Linked DNA regions of Homo sapiens: region 2 is linked to region 1. The links are contacts of gene promoters, found by promoter capture Hi-C in blood cells and fetal thymus (Javierre and others, 2016). All regions are on one chromosome and are shown on one strand. The core of a region is centred on a gene start or on the middle of the fragment in contact, and the rest is flanking DNA. Distances in the headings are between cores, read along the strand shown.

Region 1 (5,012 bases), core at 1,776-4,275:
GCCTCCTCCAGGCAATATGCCACATCTGTCTCTTGTGTCGAAGACCCTATTTTCTAAGTCCATAATTTCCTCTTCCTTTGTTTACTCCTAGTTACGGTGGAGCACTTACTTGAGGCGTTTTCTTGAAAAGTGTAGATAAGAAGTAAATTTTTTGACATCTTGATCATGTGAAAACATTTTAATTCTCTTCACACACTTGATTTCTCTGGGTATAGAATATAAAGTTGGAAATAATTTTCCGTTAACAATTTGAAGACATCATTCAACTGCTGTCTGGCTTCCGATATTGTTGTTGTGAAGTCTAAGGATTTCTAATCCTTTGCTTATTTATTTTTCTCTCTGAAAGATTCCAGTCTCTTCTCTTTGCCCTTGGTATTCTAACATTTCTTGTTGACATAACTCATTCTGGCTAGTTCATATCTGCTAGTTCTACAATATATTTTTCTGAATTTATTTTTTTAAGGTTTATTCCATTTTTTCCTAATGTTTCCCCTACATTATTCACATGTTGGACATACTGAACTGTTTCTCTAATTTTATTTACTTCTTTTATTTTCCTTCTCTTTGAATATTTGCTCTACTTTCTGGGAGACTTTTATGGGTGTATCTTGCAAATTTTCTGTTAAGCTTCCTCTAGGAAACCCACTGGTAATCTCCCAGGCTGGGAGGTATCCTAAATTAGAATTTGCAAAAGTCTTTAGTTTGAATAAGGAGAACATTTTGATTGATACAATTTGAACCTCGCAATCAATTTTGTCAGCCAGGTGTTGAGATTTAGAACACAGGCAAGAGAAAACCATTGCACTTTTCCCTTGTCCCTCAGCAGGACACCAATCACATCCCCTACCTTAAACAGAAAGCAAAGTAAAACAAACAAGAACAAACCAGGCAAGCATCAACAAGAAGAAAGCAGGTCAATATTATTATCAGACAAGTCCAAAGTTAAAAAAAAAAAACCCAAACTCTAAGCAAAGTAAAAACATTATTTCAAATAGATAACATAAGTCATTCTAAAATGAAGATATCTAGCCTTTATTAAAGGCTTTATGTACGTTTTATTACGAATTAATAAAAATAAATTAGCTAAGTTAATATTTCCTAAATTTTAGTCATTTATATAGCATCTTCATATTATACTGAATATTTTACTTCAAATAAAATGAATAATTAAAAATGGAACTTCATATTACTACTGCAGATAGAAAATCAGTTTCACTAATAAATCGAAGTAAAACACACAAATAAATATGTGGATGTTCCTGGGCATCAATTTTTCTCTTCTATGTACAGGAATAATAATAGGACCTATCTCATAGGGTTGTTTTTGAGTGTTCCAAGAATTAATACATATAAAGTGCTTTGAAAAATTCTAGAACATAATATGTGTCATAGGTAATTTTTAAAAGGGATTAAAATAACCTATTTATAAAAAGGCTATTAATTTGGGTTTTGAAAAGTTAAACTGTATGGTAGAAATAAGAGACATGCTCGAAACAAAAATGAAACAAAAAATAAAATAAAATGAGAAATATACAGCAGGCAAATAATAGCCAATATGAAATTGGTAGAGAAATATCAATATTAAAAAAAGTTTAAAAGGACAAGCAACAATAACAATAAAGAGGGGCACCACACAATGAAGAAAGAGATGATCTATGAAGAAATGATAAACATATGTTCATTAAATAATTTTGTGTAATAGCAAAGAAAAATGTTCTTTATTAAGAAACTGGATAAATAAAATATTTCATATTCATGTGATCCAATATGATTAATTTTAAAAGATCATGGCTATATCTTAAAAGCATAGAGTTCAATTATGCAACAGTAAAACTTTAAAGTAAAATATTAAAACCATTGTTTGTATATTAGTGTATGAAGCAAAAAATACACAGAACTGAAAGGATGCATCAAAATAATGATATACACAATAATGATACCTGCTGGGAAGGAGGAGAACAAAAACAAAACGTCATTCCATTATTAGCAATGTTTTAAAGAATTTGCATTCAGTTTTCTAGTGTGTTTTGATTGTAGTTCAACTATTACAATCTCATTTGAATTTTTATATTTTAAATATGTGTCAAATTTATAAGTCACAAAATAACATAATGTTACCAAAAGGTTTGGCAAGTTTGTAAGTTTGACTCATAAATTTGGCTTTGCAGGTTCTGGACTTTTGATTTTAAGAACATCCGATCGCTCTCTCTTTACTGTCATCTGGTTCCAAGCAATAGAAAAGAGAAAAGATAAAACTGTGGTTCAGATGCAATTTTATATCAATTCCTGCTTTTCTGTAATCAACTATTATATTAAAACAATATGCCTTTAATTTGAAAATGTATAAATTAGCTATGCAAAAAACTGGGAGAACGATATACAAATAATAAAAATTCCGAGGTTCCCTATAATTGTGTACGTCTTCCACAATACATTAAAAAAAAAAAAAGAGTTCTGAGGGTATAGGCTAAGAAGAGAAAGGAAACGGTAGCGATCTCAAAATGATAAGTTAAAAGAAATAAGTAAGTAGCTTATTTTTCAGTTGTGGGATTATGAATAATTACTATTTCATTATCTACACTTTGCTGCACTTCCCAAAATTTCTACACAGAAGATACAATCTGGAAGAAATGAAGAAAGATTTCAGTAGTAAGAACGTGTAATGAGTGATTACATGATAAATAAAACAATAAATATTTCTTTCTAGGATATTTCACCAACCAAACACGACCTGATTCACCAACTAATACTCCCGCCTTCTAACAGCCACACGTAAAAATCAGACCGGCTCCAAGAATAACCTGAGCCTCCTTTCCCATAATTCCCTTCTTTCTAGTTTCCCATGAATCCGAAGGCCTTACACCCCACACTACTACTAGAAAGTTAACCCGCCCCCTCATTCTTTACTGGTCATTCACGATTGGTCCTGCCCCACCTGTCGGTGTGAGGCTGTTGATTGGATAAGAGCGGAGGCCGGTGGGCGGAACGGTTTCTGACAACCGGCGTGGAGGCGTGGCCACAGCCGCCCAGAAATTCTACCCAAGCTCCCTCAGCACCATGTACCGAGCACTTCGGCTCCTCGCGCGCTCGCGTCCCCTCGTGCGGGCTCCAGCCGCAGCCTTAGCTTCGGCTCCCGGCTTGGGTGGCGCGGCCGTGCCCTCGTTTTGGCCTCCGAACGCGGCTCGAATGGTGAGCGCAGGCCGCCATCCCCCGGCCTCCCCGCAGTGACCTTCAGCCCTCCTGCCTGCCGGCCTGGGCGCCCGCGACTTGGCGGGAGAGATTCCCCGGGCGTCCGGGCCGCGCCAGACTCTGGGCTTAGCGCCCGTGCCGGCGTGGCGGGCCTCCCGGCCTCGGGACGCCTCTTCCGGCGCAGGGATGGAGCCGCAGCCCGGGAGAGCGCTTGGGGAGGGACGGGGGCTGTCAGAGAGGGTCCTACTGGGCCCGCTCCCGGCGCCTCCTCGGAGCCGTCCGTGGCGGGCCGAGGCCGGGGCGTTTTGAGGTAACTTCGCTGCTGCTGGCGCGCAGGCCCCCAGCCCCGGGGCGCTGCCCTCAAGGACAGTGCCGGCGTGGGCGGAGGGTGCTGGGAGAGGGGCAGCTCCCGCACCGTCCTGCCCCATAGCTGGGCCTTGCTGGCCGGACACTGGCCGCCTGTGCATCTAGTGGTTTCTGAACTGTGGTTTGTTTCGCCAAGGGGCACTGCACTGCTTTCAGGCCCTCCAGGTGGGGTAGAAGGTTCTTCGAAGATTTTACTTCCTTTGAAATTGCATGCTCAGTTTGTTAGGCTGACTATGGTTTCCCCCGTAATTGTTGTAAAACTCTTCAATTCCGAATACCGCGGGCATAGTGTTCTGAAGCATGTTTGAGCAGATTGGCTAGGAGCTGAATCGGTACTTTTTATTCAGAAAGCCAGCTAAGAACTTAAAGATCCAAGTTCAGGTTATGACATGCTTACGTAAGTCATTTTGCTCTTTAGAGTGTCATCTTTAGGAATGCAGGCTTTTAAAAAGCTTTAAATACATATGTATATTGTTAGGAAACGTTTGAGAAATGATAGTTGAAGAGTTACAGTTCTGCACTGGTGTAGCATGAGGTTTGCAATCTAAGAGATGTGATTTCAAATCCGTATGCAAAGTTGAAATACTTACAGCTACTCAGCAAAACTGCACATGTGAAAATACCATGTAGCGAGTGCTCATTAAATAAGTGCCCCATCTAGGGTATTTCAAAGGGCCAGTACTTTTTCTGGACTCTAAACTTCAAGATAATTTGATTGGGTCACTATACCTACGATATACAACTATACTACAGAATCAGAGATGTTTTGTATTCCTCGAACTCCCTGCTCGAATAATTTTAGGGCATTTTAAAACCTTTACATATTTTTAAATTTATTTATTGTTTATTTAGTGTTTTGTAAAGGGAAGCAGACTGGAGAACTTCTGAATCTATCCTGTTGATGCAAATGTCAAAAAATAGCAGCACTACTTTGCTCTTAGAATTGTAATGTTAGCTAAAATCAGATGGAGGTAGTTTTTGTTTTTTCTAGTTCTGGTACTTTTTGCCCTCTAACCATTCTCAGGTCCAAAATCTCTGTTGGTTTTGTTAAAAGTTCTTCCTGTTGCTAATGTTGAGAATTTCACATAACCCTTGATGCCCTAAGGTACCTTTTATTTAAAAGAACACATACAAATTCATTCAATAGAAAGATACTGTTTATTGAGTGCCTTCCACTTACCAGGCCCTGTAAATAAGACAGTCCCTATGGGGATAGGGTTTTACAGGCAGTGTTTTATTCTTGTCTTTAGTGGAGATTAAATAAGCAAAGCAGTTAAATAAGCAAATAAATCACACATGAATAATTAGTGTGATCATTGATTATTAAAAATGCATTAAAAAGTGCATTGAGAATGAGAATATTTAACAGGCAGACCAACTGTGATACTGACTTGGTAGCATGATGGCATATATATAGTGTTTATATATGTAAATAATGTTTATACATTTCTTATATA
Region 2 (5,012 bases), core at 1,249-3,748, 1.8 Mb before region 1:
TATCACCACCACCGCTATTTATTGAGAAATATTTTGTGCCTGCCTGGGTTTGTATAAGATAACCAATATACATTTTAAAATGCAGTCCTCATTCACAATCCTAGGAGTCACATATTTCTCCATTTTACAGATGAGGAAAAACTGGGGCACAGAGAAGTTAAAGTAACTCGTCCAAGGTCACACAGCCAGTGAATGGTGGGGCCAGAAGTTGAATCTAAGTCTGGCTAACTCTAGTAAGCCCATGTTCACCCCCTAAGCCCTCCTGCCTTTGACGATAGCTGAGTGTACTGGGAGACAGGGCGCGAGAGGAGGAAAAAAGCAGCAGCCTTGGAGGGCAAAAGGGAGCCACATTAGGACAGACCACGGGCATGGGAAAGAATGTGGAGACTGTCTTGAAGGCAGTGAAAATTCACCGAAGAATTTTAAATCAGAGTCACATGATCAAATGTGTCTTTAAGAAAGATCGCTTCTGGCTGCAGTGTAGGGAGTGGAACGAAGGAGGGAGGCAAGCTAGGAAGAAGTGTAATAGATAAATCCAGAGATTACTTAGCTTCCATAAGAAAAGTGTTAATGAGGGAAAGAATTCAAGAAAACGTTAGAAACTCAGATCTGTACTTAGTGACTGGTTAAAAGTTAGGGGTGAAGGACAGGGTGAAATCCAGTTTTCTGATCAGAGCATGTTAGTGAGTAAAAGTGCCATCCAGTAAGAGAATACAGAAGGGGCAGCAGATTTGGGAGAGTGAATGTGTGAGTTCAATTTGAGATGGTAAAATTTATGTTTAAATGGGAAGAAAAGAAGACCAGCCTGGACACAACAGATAAAATGAGAGATAAAAAGAAAGAATGCTGAAGAACTAGAGGTGAAAATGAAGACATGGAGTAGATTTAACTTTGATAGGGAGGAAAGAAGAGCAAAGGCCCTAGTCAGAGAGTGTGGTTTCAGAGAGATCTTAGGGGCATTTCAGTTCATGCAGGATGTTAGCGTAGAAGTAGGGGATATAGTAGAGTTAAGGAAGCTGAAGAGTATTAGTGTTTTGTGTATCAGCAACATGGAAATTCAAACATTTAAGGATGATGAAAGAGATAGAATGAAGAGGAAAAGGATCAGATGTTAAAACTTTTAAAAAGGGGCCAGGCGCGGTGGCTCACGCCTGTAATCCCAGCACTTTGGGAGGCCAAGATGGGTGCATCACCTGAGCTCAGGAGTTTGAGACCAGCCTGGCCAACATTGTGAAACCCTGTCTCTACTAAAAAAACAAAATTAGCCAGGCATGGTGGCGCATGCCTGTAATCCCAGCTACTTGGGAGGCTGAGGTGGGAGAATCACTTGATTCCAGGAAGCTGAGGTTACAGTGAGCTGAGATTGCGCCATTGCACTCCAGCCTGGGCAACAAGAATGAAACTCTGTCTCAAAAAAATGATAATAAAAATAAAAATAAAATAGAAAGGGTCAAAGAGAGCCTTCTCAATTGAGAGATTTTATTGATTAGGGAGGAGAGAGACAACACTGATTTCAAAGAGGAGTGTGATATGGTTTGGATACCTGTCCTCTCCAAATCTCTCATGTTGAAATGTGACTTCCAGTGTTGGAGGTGGGGCCTGGTGGGAGGTGTTTGGGTCATGGGGGTGGATCCCTCATGAATGGCTTGGTGCCCTATTAGTTATCCTGAGGTCTGATTGTTAGAAAGGGCCTGGCCCCTCTCCTCCTCGCTCAGTCCTGCTCCCTTGTGAGGCTTGCTCCCCTCTGCCTGCTGTCAGAGTGAAATCTTCCTGAGGCCTTACCAGAAGCATATGTTGGCACCATGCTTCGTATGCAGCCTGCACAACATGAGCCAAAATAAACCACTTACTTCTCTTTATAAATTACCAATCTCTGCTCTTTCTTTATAGCAATGCAAAACAGATTAACACAGAGCGGTAGCTTAATTTCAAAGAGGAATAGGACCTGAGAGTAAGTGCCAAAACAAAGCCCTGGAAATGGCAGTCAGGAGTGAAGTAACTGCGGTTTCCTCCATCACACCCACCTGAGACGACTTGACTGACACAAGGGCCTTCACTGAAGGTTTTGAAACATGGCATTGAGGGACAGCTAGAGCTCACAACAAATGAAGAAACAGGAGAGTCTGAGGAAACAGTATGTTGGGGAGTTTGGTCATAACTGAACCTAAGTTTCAAAAGGCATGAGGGTCAAACGGGAAGAGTTATGGATGAACTGGATAAAGACAAATGGACATAGCAATGGCTGACAAGAGGCTTAATGCAGAATTGAATAGCCCTAATTTTTTTTTAACTTTTATTTTAGGTTCGGGGGTACATGTGAAGGTTTGTTACATAGGCAAACTCATGTCACGGGGTTTTGTTATACAGATTATTTTATCACCCAGGTATTAAGCCCAGTACCCAATAGTGATCTCTTCTGCTCCTCTCCCTGCTCCCACCCTATATCCTCAAGGAGATGCCACTGTCTGTGGTTTCCTACTTTGTGCTCATAAGTTCTTATCATTTAGCTCCCACTTATACGTAAGAATATGCAGTATTTGGCTTTCTGTTCCTGCGTTAGTTTGCTAAGGATAACTGTCTCCGGCTCCATGCATGTTCCTGCAAAAGATCGGATCTCATTCTTTTTATGGCTGCATACTATTCCATGGTGTCCATGTTCCACATTTTCTTTATACAATCTGTCAGTGATGAACATTTAGATTGATTCCGTCAATTTCGGTTGATTCCATCAATTCCATCGTTTACGTTTGCTATTGTGAAGGGTGCTGCAATGACAATTCACATGCATGTGTCTTTGCAGCAGAATGATTTATATTCCTCTGGGCATATACTCAGTAATGTAGCCCTAATATTTTAATAAAACACTGAGATTCATATATGGTTTAGACCAGTGCTATCCAACAAAACTTTTCATGATAATGAAAATGCTCTATATCTGCACTGTCCAATATTTGCTACACGTGGCCATTAAGAACTTGAATTGTATGCTAGTGTGTCTAGGGAAAATACATGCAACTTTAACGGATTACGGTGTGGCCCCCAAATACAGTAATGAATCAACAGTAACCTCCTATTCTTCAAAGTGCCTATAACACCGTCCGATCACTAAGTATAAACTGTTATTCTCATTAAGTATGTTTGAGTTACCTTACAGTAAGTCCAGACTCAAAGATGCTACTAAGACCGGGCGCAGTGGCTCACGCCTGTAATCTCAGCACTTTGGGAGGACGAGATGGGCAGATCACCTGAGGTCATGAGTTCCAGACCAGCCTGGCTAACATGGTGAAACACCATCTCTGCTAAAAATACAAAAATTAGCTGGGCATGATGGCCCGTGTCTGTAATCCCAGCTACTTGGGAGGCTGAGGCAGGAGAATCACTTGAACCCAGGAGGAAGAGGTTGCTGTGAGCCGAAATCGTGCCATTGCACTCCAGCCTGGGCGACAGGGCAAGACTCTGTCTCAAAAAAAAAAAAAAAAAAATGCTACTAAATATGTATATATTATTGTCTTTGGTATATTTGGATTTTCTCAAAACTTCCCAATTATTGAGGAAAAACATTTGTCTTTAGTCATATACGAACACATACAAACTAATGCCTGGGTGTTAAGATTTTTGCAGCATTGCAAATTATCAGCAAATAAAAAGATTAAGCATATAGGTCTCTCAAAGTATTATACTGTACTACATTCTCTGAACAGTGATACAACAACAGTATTTGCAGAGCAGTAAGAATTCTCCAAATAGCAAATTTGTTTAATTCAGAAAAGTCAACATTAACAGATTGATAATTCACTTTGTGTGTTTGAAAAACAAAGTTTAGTTATAGAAGAATAACCAAATAAATACTCAGAAGAAAAAAGAAAAAAAAAAGAAAGACACTTTTATTTGCATCTTATTAGACTTGCCTTGGTTTTTTCAAAATTGGCTTCCTCAGATATTTGCAAAACTTGTTTCACCTGTTCATAAGCACTTGCTTCTCTTTGCTGCGTATCTGCCAAGCTGCTCCTTACGGAAACTAGTGCAGACATCAAGTCATCTCTTTCTCTGTCAGCACAAAAAGAACATTCAAAACAAGAAATGATCAAACGATCCTGTCCTCATAAGTCAGGGAGAGAAAAGCATTAATATGTATTAGAAGAGCCAGGGTAGGCCGGCTGAGCACATATGAAATAAAGCACACCCCAGAGAAAGACCCTCTGTCCTCACTTGGCGAGCGGCGGGCGGAGCAGCCAGAAAGGCTAAGAGCCTTCGTGGCAGGACGGCATCTGTGCGGGACAATCATCTATTGTGGAGAGGGCTGCAGGGGAAAGCCCAGAGAAGAGCAAATTAGTTTTTTAAAAGTGGGGGGAGGTGCTGAAAAGGAAAAATGCAGCAAAGTAGGGAAGGTACGAATTGTAAATCAAGGTAGCAGTCAACATTTTAAGGAAGGACTGAGGCTTTGTCCATGCAGCAGATTCTCCTCTCATTTACTTGAACAAATATATGTCCTTTCCTTTTTATCTTTCTCCACAATCCTCTTTTTTGCACTTCTCTTTCAATTACATTCTTTCAGTTACTTATGAACACTTGTTGTTGCTCAATGATTAGTACTGTTGAACTCCTCCAATCTCCTGGCTATGCATATAACATTCACAATTTAACACAATCTTATCCCACTGGGTTTGATCATTGCCAAGACCCACCCTTCTTCAGCAATTCTCAGAAGTACTCTATCCTAAGCTGTTTATTGGGAGTAGAAGTGAACCAAATGCCAAAATGCTCTGGCATGTAAAATAGCAAGGATACAATCTCATTGATTAAATAAGTCCCATATAAAATATTCTAGGATATTTGCAATTTATCAACTGAATAAAAATATCCAGTAGACAAAGAGAAAGTGAGGCAGGAAACTTTCAAGACATAAAAAGCAAAAAATGTATGCTGGACTGTTACATATGGTGTTCCCTGTTTTGTTAAAGAGTTGAAGACTAAACCACGGTTTCAAATTCATTTGAAATAAATGCTTGCAG

What was found. Contacts are between HindIII fragments. The CHiCAGO score rates a contact against its expected background, and 5 or more counts as called.
Region 2: a contact is called between a fragment that was not itself captured here and the fragment with the promoter of FH in region 1, in 5 of 17 cell types (naive CD4 T cells, non-activated CD4 T cells, total CD4 T cells and 2 more). The highest score is 11.0, in naive CD4 T cells.

Annotation. Positions count from the first base shown.
Region 1 is chr1:241,517,768-241,522,779 of GRCh38, reverse strand. FH (fumarate hydratase) reads left to right here and starts at 3,025. Exons shown (of 10, transcript NM_000143.4): 1 at 3,025-3,189. The coding sequence starts at 3,058. RefSeq lists silencers at 2,911-3,040, 2,863-3,145, 3,321-3,590 and an enhancer at 2,651-3,247. The HindIII fragment of the contact is 3,380 bases long and covers 630-4,009 here.
Region 2 is chr1:243,315,790-243,320,801 of GRCh38, reverse strand. It overlaps SDCCAG8 (SHH signaling and ciliogenesis regulator SDCCAG8), which reads right to left. Exons shown (of 18, transcript NM_006642.5): 9 at 3,909-4,047. Among named protein-coding and RNA genes, the nearest start is that of MIR4677, 28 kb to the left of the region's middle. RefSeq lists a silencer at 4,141-4,435. The HindIII fragment of the contact is 8,285 bases long and covers 1-5,012 here.